Regions from separate parts of the Homo sapiens genome. Here region 1 is linked to region 2. The links are contacts of gene promoters, found by promoter capture Hi-C in blood cells and fetal thymus (Javierre and others, 2016). All regions are on one chromosome and are shown on one strand. Each heading gives the region's core, a stretch centred on a gene start or on the middle of the fragment in contact. The rest is flanking DNA. Distances are from core to core; before and after follow the strand shown. Region 1 overlaps FBXO42 (F-box protein 42). Region 2 holds the start of SPATA21 (spermatogenesis associated 21).

Region 1 (5,663 bases), core at 1,296-3,795, 190 kb before region 2:
AATAGCGGTAACACCTGAATTGCTAGCCTTCTGGCCCAGCTTTCCCTTGTAAATAAGGACCCCACATGATCGAACAGTCTTTGCCAAGCAAGGATTGGCAACAGCACCAGAGCCTGAGTCGCGAAAGGGAAGTGTGGAGCTCCAAGCAGTTGGATGCCACATAAGTAGACACATGTTGTTTCCTCATTGAAGGGAACACAAAGAGCAGTTTCTGGAACACATACCCCTCCCCACAAGCTAGGCTTGGCACCAGGGTGGCTTTCCTACGAAGACCACATCATAAAAGCTAATGGCTAAGGGAAAGGATTCAGCATGATGTAACAGGAGAAAACACACTTATCAGTACACTTAGGCTGCCAGATGCTGGCTGAAAGCCAGGACCCAGGGCCAGCTGCAGCAGGCTTTGTGCCTGAGAAACGCTAATAATAAAAAGAGGAGTGTCAGGGTGGCAAGGTGATGTTTTGAAATTAGGATTTAAATTTCAAAACAAAACAAAGGCAAAACAAAAATCCTCTTTCCACTGATGAGAAATCACCAAAAATCCCTATTTAAATGGTGCCATTTGAAATAAACTTATTTTGACATCTCCTATGCCCAGGCCATGGTTGAGACTAGTAACTTTCTGTATCAAGCAAAGAAATGCTCTACTTGGTTACACCTTAATCTCAGAAATGAAGTGAAAGTAAAAACCCAAGCCCTATTTGGGTGACACATGAAGAAGACAAGTGCAAAGGATGGAGCTGTTTCTGAGGTCAGCCATGCGTCAAGAAGTCAAGTACATGATTCTCAACTCCATCACCTGCCAATAGCCAGGAAGAGGAATATATGTCACCACAAGGAAAAAAACATTTCTAAAAAGAACTGTTATTGGAATTCCCTTCCAGAATCAATTTCCACATTCTACAAATATGGGATGAGTGTGCTCAATGTGCTTTGGAAGTAAAAAGAAGCCCATAGGGAAAAAACAGTATCTTTTGATGCTTGCTTCAAAGATTTCTCACAATATTGGCATCTTAGAATTCCCTACTGGCCCCCTAGTGACACCAGGGAAAGGGTTCCACAAGTATTTCTAAGCAGCTTCTGATTTCTGTAGGCACCTGAGCTTTGTAAAAGAAACAGAAAGTCAGACAGGTTTTAGGACTTCACCACATATGAAAAAAAAAAAAGAAAAGAAAAAAGGTAGAAGAAAAAAGCAGCCTGTAAGTGAATGGAAAAGGCAGTTTCCAAGTACCATGTTCTAAGGGAAGAAAGAGGAGAATAAATATGTTTTTTGGCAACTTGCCACCAAATATGATTGATTGTCAGAAATTTCCACAATCAGACACAAAATGTTTTCTGAGACACACAAGAAGCACTCCAAAGACCAATGGACACTACTAGGCGGTCAGATGTTGGCTGCATAAACATTATTTCACAATGACCCGGCACACAAATGTGGAATAAAATCCTTTGTTGGGTAACTTTCCTCAGCCATAAAAGGCAAGAGGGGGCCAGGCACTGGCATTTCTGCAGAGCTGTCACAGGTCCTCTGTGGTTTTAAGAGAAGGGGAAAAACAGTTACTTTTACCCCGACAGCACCTGAAGCATGAGAGTCTAAAACCCTCCACCTTTGCAACTTACATATGCCCTTTCATTTTTTAACTCCAAGAAGGCCACATAAAGATTTACAGGGGGCTCTTCAGTTTCTTTTGGGAAGTTACTGATGTTAGTCTATTCTCTAACTTCTTGGTCTAGTTACCAGCAAGGTAGAAAAAGGCAGCCCAGCCCCTGTTAAAACACAGCAACAACTTTATCTGAACCAGGATGGAAATCTCTCCCTTTTTTTGTCAACAGAGTTGGCTATATAATATATATATATATATTTATATATAATTTTTTTTCTTAATGGAGATTTGATCCCAGCCTGGAGTGACTTCGGTTGGGAATTAAAGAGTTTTGGCTTCTGGGAGTAATTTTGTTTTCCCAATTCTCAGTCCAAATGCTTACACACTGGAAAATTCCAAATTAAAAGCCACAGAAAAGGAAAGGGGTTTAGAACACATTATCTCTTTGCTCGTACAAAGTACAAGGCGTTTGTTTTTGGATAGTACTTCACATTCTGTTTCTTGTCCATGAGTCCTCCAAATATGATGAGTTCACCCCTGCCTTGTACCACGGTATGCAGGCTGGTTTCAGGAGGTCCAACCACAGAACTGCTATTAAATACTTTCCATTTGACCCGCCCCTTCTCCTTGGTGTCTTTAATGTCCAGCACGTACATCTGCATGGGCTTGCAGTTCATACTCTGGTATAGGGGTTTGCCAACATTTAGGGACTGTGGAGGGTGGTGGCCCAGGCGGCGAGCAATGGGAGGTAAGGAATGTCCATCTCCTTGGGCAGGCCCTGGGCGAGGGATGGGCACTGTTTCTCCACTGCTCAAACTCTGGCTCCCAGGAGAGCCTGGAGAAGACCCAAGAGGAGGACTTAGTGCTGCAGAGGCCGAGGGGCCTTTGGAGGACATCGCTTTGATGGCTTCCAGACTCCGACGCAGGGCACCTGGGGAGACGGCCCCTGCAAGGGCACTGGCCACGTGAGGTGGGGTATGCACACCATTTGTCTGTTCAGGAGGGTGTCTCATACTTCCCCCAACTGTCCTATTGTCCATGCCATCCATGGGATTACTACTGGAAGCGGGTTTCAGATCCCAATTCAGATCTATGGATCCTAATCTCAGATCTTTCTGATCTGGTAGTGATCCTCGTCGGGGGGCCAAAGAAAGTCCTATTTTCAGGTCGTATCCTTCAGGAGCAGATGGAGTACTTGGAGATATGGCCTGTACAGGACTGTCCAAAGAAGAGCCACCCACAGCTGCCGTTCCTGGAGACAAACTCCCACCATTGAGGATAGGAGAGCCGTCTCCTCTGGCTGGGGAAAGGCTCCCTTCCCGGGAACCTGAAGGAGTCTGCCTTTGAGCCCTGGGTCTCAGTGTTCCCCAGCGGCCGTTAACACAAGGAGCTTCATCCATGCTTCTTACTGGAGACTGAGAGCGGTACTCTCGGGTTTCAGGAACGAGAGCTGGAGGAGTGGCACTGATAGGTGATGGGCGAGAGTTCAAACTGGGGCTGAGTGGGGCTCTCCCACTAGGAGCCTGGCTGAAGACCACCACACACTGTCCCACCTGGAAGACAAAGGACCAGTGCTCACACTCTTCTATGATTCTGATTGTTCATTCAACTGTCAAACATTTTATCATGAGCATCTGTCATGTGCCAGACATTTTGTAGGTACCTGAGATATGAAGATGAAAATGATGTAGTCTGCCCTCTAGGCTAGAAGTCAGACATGGGAACAATCGCTGCTTTGTGTGACATATGCTATCATTAGAGATATGTATACAGAAGGGGTGGGGAGAAGGGAACAATCAATTTTTGTTAGAAGGAGAAGGGAAAGTTTCACAGACAAACAGATGCTTAAAGTTGGGACTTACTGAATGAGTAGGGCCCCTGTAAGTTTTCCCATTTAGTGAGAAATGCCAAAGGAGCTATGGCTAATGTTCACCTCTTTTGTGACACCAAGGTGTTTTCTATTTTTGTACAAATTTCTTTGTAACCTGACAAAGTAATGTGGTTTTCCACAATTTAGGACCTGTCCTCCTGCTAGCCTGTCAGCTCCCTGCTTACCCGGCAAGCTGGATGGCACCACAGTTCTGGGGCCCCATGCTCTTCATTTTCTACCTTGAGTGGCTGCCAGGCCCAAGGACCAGAATGCATGTGCAACAACCAAGCATCCTTGAATAGCTGTAAGAGAAAAAACCAATAACAAGACTCAGGTGTGATATGCGTTCCAAAACACACACACACAGAGTTGCAGTCTCAAAGCTCTCCTGTCTGGTCTTGAAAGGATGTGGACTCTTCAGAAGGATAGCAAAATCCTCAGTTAATTATTCAGTTGTGCATGCATCCACTTACGCTTTCATTCATTCATATATTACCACTGGCTTAGCACATGGAATTGTGCTTGTGACCCATGAATCAACTGAGTGGTTTTGACACTTGCCCATAATTTTATGTGTATGTATTGGGGATTGAAGGAGAGGATAAATAATACATATCCACAACTTTCTGAATCTGCTTTCTTAAATACTGTGTGAACTCTGACAGTTATCAACCTGCTTTTTTGTTCCACTGCCCTCTCCCCTTTGAAAATATGATAGCAGTAAACTTTATAGCCTAAAAAGGAAATAGGAATGGGAAGAATATAGATATGAATATTCAAGAGACAAATATCTATGATTAAAAGGATCCCCCCACAACCCTAAAAAAAAGCAGAAACAAAGGCCAGAAAATACAAAGGCTATACCCAAAAAGCATTCCTTAAATTAAAATGCCATGGAAATAGTCTTGTATACTCCTAGAAAAGAAGACAGGGGAAACAGGTTTTGAACACTTAGTAGCATGCACATGGGAATGCCACAGAAGCAATACTCACAGCATTGGGACCGCCACACCCTCCGAGGATTAAGATAGTTGCATCATCTATGACAATCTGAGGAGGGGAAGACATTGAAAATAAACCTACAAAGACACAGGTTTCTGACTTTCTATGCTTCACTGGTATATGAGAATAGCCTACCTAGCTCCCAAATGGGAATATTCTAGTTACCATAACCTCTCCATTCTCCTAAAAACATATCAATTCTGATCCCTGTGAATAAATTACTGATAATTCACCTGAAAGGATACATTCTTTGTTGATCAAATATTAACATGAATGTCAACCACATAAAATGCAGGATTCTCTTGAGAAATGACACAGCAAAGTAAATGCTTTGGGGAGGAGCATAATATAAAACCACTATAAATAATATGACCCATTAGAAGTTGAAAAATAAATACCAGTAAAAAAGAATGATACATTTTCTTTGGCTTAGTGCATATTGGCATCTTACCTGACTCCCTCCTCCCTCTCCCGTCCTAACTGAAAGACGCTACAGTGTTTGCTGAATAGTTATTTTAATTCCTGAGCACCTGAGATTGGCCACCTCGAGGATGAGGACTGGGGCCAGAGATGTTCGGCTTGGACCACGCCCACTGCTCAAGGTCAAGGACCCAGACATCATTGCTCCTGTGAATTAAGGACAGAAGGATAAAGGTAGTTAGGAGCTCCCAGGGACCATAATGGTGGCTGGGGAGTTCCACATGCCTGTGGCCCATCTGGCAAACTTGCACCATTTTCACTTTCACAGACTGTGTGGGCTGGAGCAGGTTTTAGAGATGCCCTACTCAGAGTTCAGGGGCTTCTGAACCAGAAAGAGACCATGTTGCTGAATCCCAGCTCTGTAGCCTGAACAAGTCACTTAATTTTCTCTAACTCTGACTTTATCTCTAAAATGAAAATACTGTTACTACTGTCTGAGGAGCTGATATAAAATGAAGGGACCTTTATAAAGATGCGCAGCAAAGTGTTATGCTCCTACTTAGCACTTAGGCTGTATCTTTCTTCCCCTACTTTCCCTAGAAGTCATCCTGAGACCCTCCCTCTGCTCTTTCCACGAGGCCTCATCTGAGCCACGTCTGCGGCCAGACACTAGTGCCTAATGAGATTATTTTTTTAACCATCTATTAACTGAAGTAAAAGCAGATGATTAAAAAATAGTTAATTGGTGACAGCAGGAAATAGACACT
Region 2 (5,557 bases), core at 2,193-4,692:
ACACCCCTTGGGCATCATCCCCAATCTTCCCACCCCAAACCCAGCCCTAGGTAACCACTAATCTACTTTCTGTCTTAGTGGATTTGTCTATTCCGAACATTCCATATAAATGGAATCATACAATATATGGTCCTTGGTGAGTAGCTTCTTTCACTTAACGTCATGTTTTCAAGGTTCATCCATGTTGTAGCACACATCAGAATTTCATTCCTTTTTATGGCTGAGTAATATTTCACTGTATGGCTAGACCCCATTTTGTTTATCCATTCATCAGTAGATAGAAATTGAGGTTGTTTCTTTTTTCTTTCTTTTTTTTTTTTTTGAGACAGAGTTTTGCTCTGTCACTCAGGCTGGAGTGCAGCAGTGCGATCGTAGCTTACTATAGCCTCAAACTCCTGGGCTCAAGGGATCCTCTCCCCTCAGCCTCTGAGTGGCTGGCTGGGACTACAGACGCATGCCACCATGCCTGGTTCGTCTTAAAAATTTTTTAATTTTAAATAGAGGCGAGGTCTCATTAGGTTGCCCAGGCTGCTCAAAGTCCTGAGCTTAAGTGATCCTCCCACCTTGGCCTCCCAAAGTGCTGAGATTACAGGTGTGAGCCACCATGCCTGGCCCGTTTCCACATTTTACCTATTATGAATAACACTGCTATGAACATTCATGTACAAGTTTTTATATGAACATACATTTGCATTTCTCTTGGTTATGTATATAGGAACGGAATTGCTGAATCACATGTCAACTCTATTTTTAGCTTTTGAGTAATTGCCAGACTTTCTCAAAGTGGCTGTATCATTTTACCTTCTTACCAGCAGCATATGACTGCTCCAATTTTTCTGCATCCTCTCCAACACTTGTTATTATCTGTCTTATTTATTTATTTATTTATTTTTTGAGACAGGGTCTTCCTTTATCACCCAGGATGGAGTGCAGTGGTATGACCATAGCTCACTGCAACCTCCAACTCTGGGGTTCAAGGGATCCTCCCACCTTAGCCTCCTGAGTAGCTGAGACTACAAGTGCACACCACCACACCTGGCTAATTTTCAAATATTTTGTAGATGGGAATCTCACTATGTTGTCCAGGCTGGTCTTGAACTCCTCAGCTCAAGGGATCCTCCCGCCTCAGCCTCCCAGTGTTTTGGGATTACAGGTGTGAGCCACTGTACCGCCTTACTTGTCTTTTTTATCATAGCTATCCTAGTGGATGTGAGTGTAAAGTGTTATCTCATTCTGATTTTGATTTGCATTTCCCCAATGGCCGATAATGTTGGACATCTTCATGTGCTTATTGGCCATTTGTCTATCTTCTTTGGAAAAATGTTTATTCAGAGCCTTCGTCCTTTTTTTTTTGAGATGGAGTCTCGCTCTGTCACCCAGGGTGGAGTGCAGTGGCCTAGTTCCAGCTCACTGCAACCTCCGTCTCCCGTGTCCATGCAATTCTCCTGCTTCAGCCTCCCTAGTAGCTGGGATTACAGGTGTGTGCCACCACACCAGACTAATTTTTGTATTTTTAGTAGAGACGCGGTTTTGCCATCTTGACCAGGCTGGTCTCAAACCCCTGACCTCAGGTGATCTGCCCACCTCAGCCTTCCAAAGTACTGGGATTACAGGTGTGAGCCACCATGCCCGGCCCCCCCCTTTTTTTTTTTTCAGACAGGGTCTTACTCTGTCCACAGGCTGGACTGCAGTGGCATGAACGTGGCTCACTATAGCCTTGACCTCTTGGGCTCAGGTGATCCTCCCATTTCAGCCTCCCAAAATGCTGGGATTACATGCATGAGTCACAGCACCCAGCCTGCCTCTGTCCATTTATACTGGGTTGTCTTTTTATTATTGCACGGTAAATGTTCTTTATAAATTCTAGATACATGTCCTGAATCATATATATGATCTGCAAAAATTTTCTCCCATTATGTGGATTACATTTTCACCTTTTTGTCTTTTGAAGCACAGAAGTTTTAAATTTTTGTAAAAGTCCCATTTATCGGCCTGGTGCGGTGGCTCACACCTGTAATCCCAGCACTCTGGGAGGCTGAGGCGGGCGGATCATGAGGTCAGGAGTTTGAGACCAGCCTGGCCAGCAAGGTGAAACCCCATCTCTACTAAAGATACAAAAAATTAGCTGAGTGTGGTGGTGCGTGCCTGTAATCCCAGCACTTTGGGAGGCCGAGGCGGGCAGATCACCTGAGGTTGGGAGTTTGAGACCAGCCTGACCAACATGGAGAAACCCCGTCTCTACTAAAAGTACAGAATTAGCCGGGCATGGTGGCACATGCCTGTAATCCCAGCTAGTCAGGAGGCTGAGGCAGGAGAATTGCTTGAACCTGGCAGGTGGAGGGTTGCAGTGAGCCGAGATCGCACCATTGCACTCCAGCCTAGATGACAGGGTGAGACTCTGTCTCAAAAAAAAAAAAAAAAAATACAGATAGGGTGCAGTGTATACTGCTCAGGTGATGGGTGGACCAAAATCTTACAAATCACCACTAAAGAACCTACTCATGCAGGGCAAGGTGGCTCACGCCTGTAATCCCAGAACTTTGGGATGCCAAGGGGGGCAGATCACTCGAGGTCAGGAGTTTGAGATCACCCTGGCTAACATGGTGAAATCCTGTTTCTACTAAAAATACAAAAATTAGCTGGGCATGGTGGTGCCTGCCTGTAATCCTAGGTACTTGGGAGGCTGAGGCAGGAGAATCGCTTGAACCTGGGAGATGGAGGTTGCAGTGAGCAGAGACTGCACCACTACACGCCAGCCTGGGCAACAGAGCAAGACTCCGTCTCAAAAAAAATTACTAATGTAAACAAAAAAAAAACACCAAAAAACAAAAACCTTAGTCATGTAGCCAAATACCACCTGTACCCCAATAACCTATGGAAAAACAAATAAATAAATAAATAAATAAAAAGTTTTGAAATCAGGAAGTGTGAGTCCTCCAACTTTGTTCTTTTTCAAAATTCTTTGGGTATTGAGTGCCCCTTTTATAAGTGGTTTCCTCATCTGAAAAATGGGAGAATTTCTCTTGGAAATATCTATGATGGCAGGAAAATACAGCAGATAAAGATAAGTGGCATATCATATATATGTCTGGAGGCCGTCAGGGAAAGCTTGTTCACCTTACACCCCACCTTGGCCCTGCACCTACCAGAAATCAGCTGGATGAGTCACAGTGAGATTTTCCACCCCTGCTCACCGCCTTGCACATAGGATGGGCTCTGTCTGAGCCTATACTTTGCCTGTTGGCTTGAATTGGATTTGTTTGGTATACAGGGCAGTTAAACTGGGAATAGATGGCAGGTCCAATTATTCTCAGCAGCAGAGGTTTAGGAATGCATTTCAGGAATATCCAGCCATGTGGTTAGGGTTTGAGAATAAGGCAAGGGGCTGTGTGACCTCCAACTACTGGACAGTGTCATTTCCCCCAGCTTGTCACTGGTTCAGTGGCCCCCATTACACAATGAAGATAACAATCGTTGCCTTGCCAACCTCACAGTGATTATTGGGCCAGGGTACTCTCTCCCAGAAAGCCTTCCCTGACTCTCCCCAGACTGTGTGGGGTTTCTTCTCTTTGCTCCCACAGGCCCCTGTGAATTTGCTTCATTACAGTACCTTTCATTCTGCTTTGCCAATGACTGCTTTTCTCTCTGTCTCCTCCAGTCTGCGAGCTCCAGGATGGTAGGAGCTGGATTGGCCACATCCCAGTGACCCCAGTACTCAGCACCTGGCATAGGGTATGTGCTCGATGCCTGTCTTTGTTAGACTGAACAGAACTGAAAGTGCTCTGAATGGCTGGGTGCGGTGGCTCACACCTGTAATCCCAGCACTTTGGGAGGCCGAGGTGGGTGGATCACTTGAGGTCGAGTTATAGACCAGCCTGGCCAACATGGTGAAACCCCGTCTCTACTAAAAATACAAAAATTAGCCAGGCATGGTGGCGCATGCCTGTAATCCCAGCTACTTAGGAGGCTGAGGCACGAGAATCACTTGAACCTGGGAGGCAGAAGTTGCAGTGAGCTGAGATCATGCCACTGTCTTCCAGCCTGGGTGGTAGAGTGAGACTTAGTCTCAAAAAAAAAAAAATTGGAAAATAAGGCCAGGTATGGTGGCTCATGCCTATAATCCTAGCACTTTGGAAGGCTGAGGCAGGAGGATCTCTTGAAGACAGGAATTCAAGACCAGCCTGGGCAACATAGCAAGACCCCCGTCTCTACAAAAAGTAAGAAAAATAGCAGGGTAGGGTGGTGTGTGCCTGTAGGCCCAGCTACTCAAAAGGTTGAGGCAGGAGGATCCCTTGAGCCCGGGAATTTGAGGCTGCAGTGAGTGATGATCGCACCATTGCACTCCAGTGTGGGGTGACAGAGAGAGAAAGAAAGAGAGAGACCCTGTCTAAAAAAAAAAAAAAAAAGAAAAGAAAAAGAAAAGAAAAGAAAAGAAAAATAACCAATATTTGCAAAAATGTGAAGAAATTGAAACCCTTGTGAACGTAAATGGTGCTGCTGCTGTGGAAGACAGTTTGGAGGCTCCTCAAAAAGGTGAGCAAGGCCGGACATGGTGGTTCACACCTGTAGTCCCAGCTACTTGGGAGGCTGAGTTGGGAGGATCACTTGAGCCTGGGAGGTTGAGGCTGCAGTGAGCCATGATCATGCCAGTGCTTTCCAGCCTGGGCAACAGAGTGAGATGCTGTTTCAAACAAAACAAAACAAAACAAAACCACTAAACATAGCATTATTGTATAACTCAGCAGTTTCACTCCTATGTATACACTCAAGAAAATGGAAAACAGGACTAGAACAAGTGTTTGAACACCAATGCTCATAGTAGCCCGATTCCCAATACCAAAAGGTGATAACATCCCAATTGTTGACAGATGAATGGATAAACAAAATATGGTATATACATGCAATGGAATATTATCCCTCCATTAAAAGGAATGAAATTCTGATCCATGCTACATGAAAGAACCTTGAAAACTTGATGCTAAGTGAAATAAGAAACACAAAAGCCCAATATTGTATGATTCCACTTATAAGAGGTATCTAGAAAAGGCAAATTCATAGAGACAGAAAGTAAAACAGAGGTTACTAAGGGATGGAGCAGAAGGAAATGGGAAGTTATTGCTAATGGGTGTGGAGTTTCTGTTTGGGATGATGAAAAGTTCTGGAAAGCATGATATAGTTGCACAATATTGTGAATGTACTTAATTTCACAGCATTGTACACTTAAAATGGTAAATTTTATGTTATGTATATTTTACAATAAAAATGTAAGTGGTTAGATCAATCCTATAATAAAAAGCTTATAAAAAATGAGTAGAAATGGCCAGTCGTGGTGGCTCACGCCTGTAATCCCAGCACTTGGGAGGCCGAAGTGGGCGGATCACTTGAGGTCAGGAGTTCAAGATCAGCTTGGCCAACCAGATGAAACCCCCGTCTCTACCAAAAAAATACAAAAACTAGCCAGGCTTGGTGGTGGGTGCCTGTAATCCCAGCTACTCGGGAGGCTGAGGCAGGAGAATCGCTTGAACCCGGGAGGTGGAGGTTGCAGTGAGCCGAGATT

Evidence for each region. The method cuts DNA at HindIII sites, captures the fragments that hold promoters and counts their contacts. A CHiCAGO score of 5 or more calls a contact.
Region 1: a fragment that was not itself captured here is called in contact with the fragment with the promoter of SPATA21 in region 2 in 1 of 17 cell types (endothelial precursors); the score reaches 5.3 in endothelial precursors.

What each region holds. Positions count from the first base shown.
Region 1 is chr1:16,248,629-16,254,291 of GRCh38, forward strand. It overlaps FBXO42 (F-box protein 42), which reads right to left. Exons shown (of 10, transcript NM_018994.3): 7 at 5,007-5,103; 8 at 4,468-4,524; 9 at 3,660-3,776; 10 at 1-3,157. The coding sequence ends at 2,042. Among named protein-coding and RNA genes, the nearest start is that of CPLANE2, 14 kb to the left of the region's middle. The HindIII fragment of the contact is 6,409 bases long and covers 1-5,663 here.
Region 2 is chr1:16,433,982-16,439,538 of GRCh38, forward strand. It overlaps SPATA21 (spermatogenesis associated 21), which reads right to left and starts at 3,443. Exons shown (of 13, transcript NM_198546.1): 1 at 3,147-3,443. RefSeq lists a silencer at 4,173-4,343. The HindIII fragment of the contact is 2,188 bases long and covers 3,107-5,294 here.